Linked DNA regions of Homo sapiens: region 1 is linked to region 2. Evidence: promoter capture Hi-C in human tissues and cell types (Jung and others, 2019). All regions are on one chromosome and are shown on one strand. Each heading gives the region's core, a stretch centred on a gene start or on the middle of the fragment in contact. The rest is flanking DNA. Distances are from core to core; before and after follow the strand shown. Region 1 holds the start of AQP2 (aquaporin 2). Region 2 overlaps TMBIM6 (transmembrane BAX inhibitor motif containing 6).

What was found. Contacts are between HindIII fragments. The study calls those that stand out against the background at their distance.
Region 1: the fragment with the promoter of AQP2 here is called in contact with a fragment that was not itself captured in region 2 in 2 of the 25 tissues and cell types used here (IMR-90 fibroblasts and bladder).

The regions. Positions count from the first base shown.
Region 1 is chr12:49,949,416-49,952,229 of GRCh38, reverse strand. It overlaps AQP2 (aquaporin 2), which reads right to left and starts at 1,493. Exons shown (of 4, transcript NM_000486.6): 1 at 1,040-1,493. The coding sequence starts at 1,399. AQP5-AS1 (AQP5 and AQP2 antisense RNA 2) reads left to right here. Exons shown (of 3, transcript NR_110591.1): 2 at 142-311; 3 at 561-718. The HindIII fragment of the contact is 7,583 bases long and covers 1-2,814 here.
Region 2 is chr12:49,752,505-49,755,558 of GRCh38, reverse strand. TMBIM6 (transmembrane BAX inhibitor motif containing 6) reads right to left here. Exons shown (of 10, transcript NM_003217.3): 2 at 3,010-3,054; 3 at 2,478-2,586. Among named protein-coding and RNA genes, the nearest start is that of TMBIM6, 12 kb to the right of the region's middle. RefSeq lists an enhancer at 1,619-1,708. The HindIII fragment of the contact is 5,198 bases long and covers 1-3,054 here.

The DNA of each region.
Region 1 (2,814 bases), core at 244-2,743, 200 kb before region 2:
AGAATGGCCTGAGGTGGAGGTTGCAGTGAGTTGAGATTGTACCATTGCACTCCAGCCTGGGCAATAGAGTGAGACTCCATCTCAAAAACAAAACAAAACAAAGCAGAGAAGTTCCCTAATTGGGATACCTCTGTCCCACAGATGAGGAAGGGCCACTTGTGCAGAGAAGGGGGCGCCCACAGAGATTGTGCGGGACTCATCAAAGACATCAGGACTCTTGTCCAGTGGCTCAAGGATGGAAAAGGCCGGGAACTACCGGAAACAAGCACAAAAGAGGCACTCACTGTCCTGGCTTAGGATGGGGGTACAGAGTGAGTGTTGATCTGTTGGGGGCACAGGTCATTCCTCCACATTCATGGGCCTTGGATTCACAGGGCCCACACAGACTTGAGAGGGGAAGTGGGTGGGACATGGGGGAAGGGACTGTGGCACCACCCTCAGCTCCCAAAGGGCCCACGGGGCCCAGTTAGCGCCTGTATCATGTAATCAGCAGCCAGCTTATGGGCTCCGGGGACCTCCTCAAGGTTTGGAGAAGTGAGTATGCCCATTGCTGCTTGCAGGGCTGTGGTGTGTCCGTGCCTGGCCTGTAAGGAGCACCTGCCACGGGACCTGCAAACCCTCAAAGCAGAAGAAATGCTGGGCCCCTCTTCTCTCTTGAGAACCCTGTGATGATCACTCCAAGGCTCCCCGCAGCTTGGAAAGCATGTCTGCTCGGGACACCAACCCCTGCTGAGGTATAGCCCTGTCTTCACTGTAATGTAGGCGTTGAGTCCAACAGAAACCTGGATGAGGCTCTTCCTGCACGACGGTCAGGGTGGAAGAAGCCAGCAGTCTGTCTGCATCCTGCTTTGCTCTGGTATCATTGCTCCTTTCATCCTGACCCTCCTATGGTGGCTGTGTTCCTGGCTCCAGCCTCTCTCTCTGCCTCTGTCTCCATCTCTCTCCCTACATCACCCAGAGCCCATCCCTCCCATCTCATCCTTTACAAGGGATTCCCCAGGACCTGCCCCTTGTGGATGGCAAAGTTGTGGCTACTCACAGCATTGACAGCCAGGTCCCCGCGGATGTCTGCTGGCGTGATCTCATGGAGCAGAGCGGCTCCGGCCACAGCCCCCAGCAGCTGGGCAGCCACGTAGAAGGCGGCTCGGAGAACGGAGACGTGGCAGCCCACCAGGCAGGCCACAGTCACGGCAGGGTTGATGTGGGCCCCGCTTATGTGGCCCAGAGCCTGTACCAGGGTGCCAATACCCAAGCCAAACGCCATGGCAATCTGTAGCACAGAGGGCAGGGCCTGTGGCCAGTTGAGGGCAGAGCCGAGGCCAAAGAAGACGAAGAGGAGTGTGGCCAGGAACTCTGCGAACACAGCCCTGGAGAAGGCTATGGAGCGGAGCTCCCACATGCTGCAGAGCCCTGCGGGGCTGGCCCAGCTGTCTCAGGGCCAGGATGCTCCGGGCACTCGCTCTCGCACTCTATCGCTCTCTTTCTCAAGGCCTCTGGGGAGGCTGGGTTGTGGGCATTTATAGGGTCCTTCCATCCCGGATCTGGGCACGTGGCGGGGAGGTGGAGTCGTTGAGGCCAATACCTCTTCTCCTCCATGGCGGCCTCTGCCCCCATGCCCCATCCCAGCCCACCCACAGGCCTATCACCCTATCTTGGCCTTCACAGCTGACTAATGTTCCCCATTTAATGAGCTCCAGATAAGGACTGACGTCCCTGGTTTTCCGTGTTTGTTCCCTTGGTTACCCCAGGGCTGCTGCCCCAGGGCGTCTCCCAGCCCCCACAGGGTCTTGTGAATGGGAACGTCTGGTGGGGATTGTGCCCGGCCCCCATCTCTCTGACTCAAACTGTTGACCAAGGCAGGGGCAACACCTCACACAAAACTAAGAGAGAACATGAGTGCTGCTCCTTCTGGTAACTGGGAAGTTCTTCTGTCAGACCTCCAATTATTCCTGCTTCACAGGGATGGAAAACAACTGGTTGGCTTGTGACAAATTTCCAAGGCATAAAGGTTTGTGTCTTCTGTGCTTGCATTCTTGCAGCTAATCACCCATAAATCATTAAGCTTCACCTTCTCCTGGGAGCCCCAGCCAAACAGCAGCTCCTAGAGCCTGGGGGCACTGGGACCCTGGCCCTTGGTGATGGAGTCAACCTGGGGCGGCTGAGGAAGCTGAGGGTGTCCATTCTGGCATCAGCCTGTTCCATCTATGTGACTTAACCTTTCTTGTCTTTCTCTGTAAAATGGGGAGAATAAAACTGACCTAGTGGATTGGGGTTTGGATTGAATGAAACAATGTATGTCAAGTGCTCAGAGCAGCGCCTCGTCCACAGTAGGTGGTCAATGAATATCAGCCCTTACTTACAGTATTATTTGCACTTTGAGGAGAACAGGTCTTTGCACACTCATTTGTTGGGGTCCCAGAAGCTGTGACAGGTCCTAGAAACCCTGAGGAGCTCAGGGCCGCTCTGGCCACAGGAGAAAGACATTTCTGTGGGGCAGTGAGCTGTGCAGGCTCGGGGCGGCTGTGATGCCTGATAAGCAGCTCTCTGGCCTTGGTGCCCACTCAGCTCAGCATCTGGGCAGTGCTGCCTCCTGCTATCAGTGCTGCTGTGGCCACTGGGGTCCTGGAGGCGTTCAAGTCTAGAAGTTTCCCCAGCCCCACTCACTGGCCCTTCCCTAATCCCTCCAGCCTCGCTCCCTCTCCTGGGGATTCACAGCAGGGTCAGGCTCAGAGTGGGGACAGAAGGACGGGCTTCTGCACCCTGCCCTAGCTCCTGTCCAGCAGGTCCCTGGGCAAGTCACAGTCGCAGGAACAG
Region 2 (3,054 bases), core at 1-2,500:
TCAAACACTCGTCTGAACTTCCTAACATTTGCTTATAACCTGGAGGCAGGAGAAAAAGTAGTGTTTTCTCAGGGATGGGGCTGAGGAGATAACCCAGAAGCCTTGAAGCACAGAGTTAGGACCATGGTGGATGCTGGAGGCTCTTCTGGCTTGCGTAGTCCTTCAACTACAGTACAACTACCCAAGTCAAACTATGAGTGAGTCTTGCCCAAAAAATAGAAAGGATGAATGAAACGTGACAAGTGCTTAAAGTACATTCCATCTGTAGAACAAATAGAAATGATCCCCCTTTGGTCACTTTAAAAAAAACATGGTGGCTCACGCCTGTAATCCCAGCACTTTGGGAGGCCGAGGTGGGCAAATCACCTGAGATCAGGAGTTCGAGACCAGCCTGACCAACATGGAGAAACCCCGTCTCTACTAAAAATACAAAATTAGCCAGGCATGGTGGCACACGCCTGTAATCCCAGCTACTCAGGAGGCTGAGGCAAGAGAATTGCTTGAACCCAGGGAGGCAGAGGTTGCAGTAAGCCAAGATCACGCCATTGCACTTCAGCCTGGGCAACAAGAGTGAAACTCCGTCTCAAAAAAACAAAAACCAACAAACAAAACCCCCAAACACCAAAACACCAAGACACATACATATACAGAAGACTGCAAAGTACTAAAATGTTAACAGTAGTTATTTCTGGATGATGGGATTATGGAAGTTTCTAAAATACTTCCTTCTCATTGCTAGTCTGTTTTCTGAATTTTCTAAAATGAACACATATTAGCTTTGTAGTAAGAAAAAAGTGTTTCTTTTTTTAAAAACGCCAAGTGGGAAAAACTATAGGCATTAGAAAAAAGAGAAATCATTAAGGATGGACGTAGACACTGAAGTTCCTTCCTTCCTTTAAAGGAAGAAGTTGATTCTCATTATTCAGTGTTTATGTTATAAAATCACAGTGGACAATGAATTAGTAAACCCTTGTTCCTGAGGGAAATAAAAGGTAGGTAGGTTCCTGCAAGCCTAAGGTCACAACATTTTCATCAAATGATCAATAGATACCTTGCTTTTATATGTGTTTCTGTTTAAGGACACCTCATTTGACATTATTTTTGATTCCTTAACATTGAACTCACAGTTACAACAGCAGTACAACTCATGCCGGAATGAAGCTTATCTAATATACACATTTTCTTCATAAGGCACATTACGGTCTTTCTGCACTCAGGAATACTAGACAGCACTTCAGCACTATGCTGTTTGCATTCTGAACAGCAAAATTAAGCCAAGCATGGTGGCATGTGCTTGTATTCCCAGCTACTTGGGAGGCTGAGGTGCGAGGATCAATTGAGCCCAGGAGTTTGAGACCAGTCAGGACGACACCACAAGACCTCCACTCAAAAAACCCAGCAAAATCACCAATTAAAAGCACAAAAATACAAAGGAAGTGGCACTAAATGACCATGAAAAGAACATTTGTTTACAATACGAGAACTGAAACAAGAAGGCAGAGCACTGTCTTGTTCAACCTCAGCTGAAAACACTGCAACAGCAGGGTGACTCAACTTTTTCACCACTCTGTGACTGTCTGCAAAAAGTGCCATGAGTAACAGAGCGAGACTCTGTCTCAAAAAAAAAAAAAAAAGTGCCATGAGTATTGATTTTGGGGTTACAAATTTTAATGAGTAGGTGAATTCACAAATATAGAGTCTGTGAATAACAAGGATTGACTGTATTTTACTAAATTATTTAAGGGCTAACCTTGCCTAAAACTCAAGCGATCAAAGCCCTATCCTTTGAGTGTCTAAAGTAATTTTTCACACAATCCCTGCCAGGAGATGCCTGAACATAAGGATAGTTCTCAACAGTGGCAAATGCCAACAGAGGCCCACCTCTACATTTATGCTAAAAGGAATACTCTACAAAGGCACAAGACTATGTTAGGGAGTCTTCAAACTTTCTGGTTATTCCTCAAACTGTACCTTCTACTCCTGCTGACCAAACCCAGATTCTCTCTCAATACAGGAAAACAAATTGTTGAAGGTTTTTACCCAACCATGCAGACAACAGTTATCGGAAAATAAAACAGGTCAATTCCTTAAAAAGATCTCAATCCTGCCTCTCCTGATAGTTAATCACACAATCAGAGTTTTGTAAAGGAAGAATGGAGGAAAAGATAAAAAAGCTTCTGTGCCAAAGAATCCCAGCATGCATGCCATGCGCCTACTCAGTGGGTGGGGGTCTTGTACGTCAGCAGCACACCATTCAGTGCCAAGGTTAAGGCATTCTGTTTTTCGGTATCTAGAGGGGGCACAGTTGCCAGAAAATTAAAATGGCTTTACATGTCCTGATTTAATGTCTGAGTTTAAATCCTAAACTACTGATAAAGATTAAAGAGAGGAACAGGGTCCCTTGGACCACCTTGCTGAGCTGGTTTTTTCCTAATGTAATTTGTACCACAGCAACCAGGAGAGAAAATCGTTCTTACCTGAATGAAATGAGTGACCATATGGACATAGGCCCCTGCAGCCGCCACAAACATACAAAGGGCAAAACTTGCATAGACCTTCTTCAGGTGCTGCTGCGTTGACGGGGTTCTAAGAAAAGAATGTGAATAAGAGCAATCAGTCCCAGATCAATCTCATATTTAAGCTAAGAAGAATCATTTCTCTCTTTCCCTTCCTGGGAATATGTAAAAGTTCTGTTACAAATAGTTTGAAATACTTTTAGGAAAGCATATTACAATAAAAAATAATATTTTGAAAATAGGTTAACAGAACCTTAAATGCTGAGGAAGACCAAATGCCCAAAATTATGAATAATCAGTACCCAAACTAGAATAAATGCCTTTCCAATAACCACACAGCAACGTGTAGAATTTGGACATTTTCATCAGGTCCTCTGGATTCTGGCCAAGTTAATTTGTTAGCTTATACACACAAAAGTTATAAATGCAGAAAAGGGACAAAGAGATATGAAAAGAAATGCAGTACAAAACCAGTCAAGGTCAAAACACTTACATATGAGAAAATTTTAAAAGCGCATCAAAGTTGATCTTTCGATCA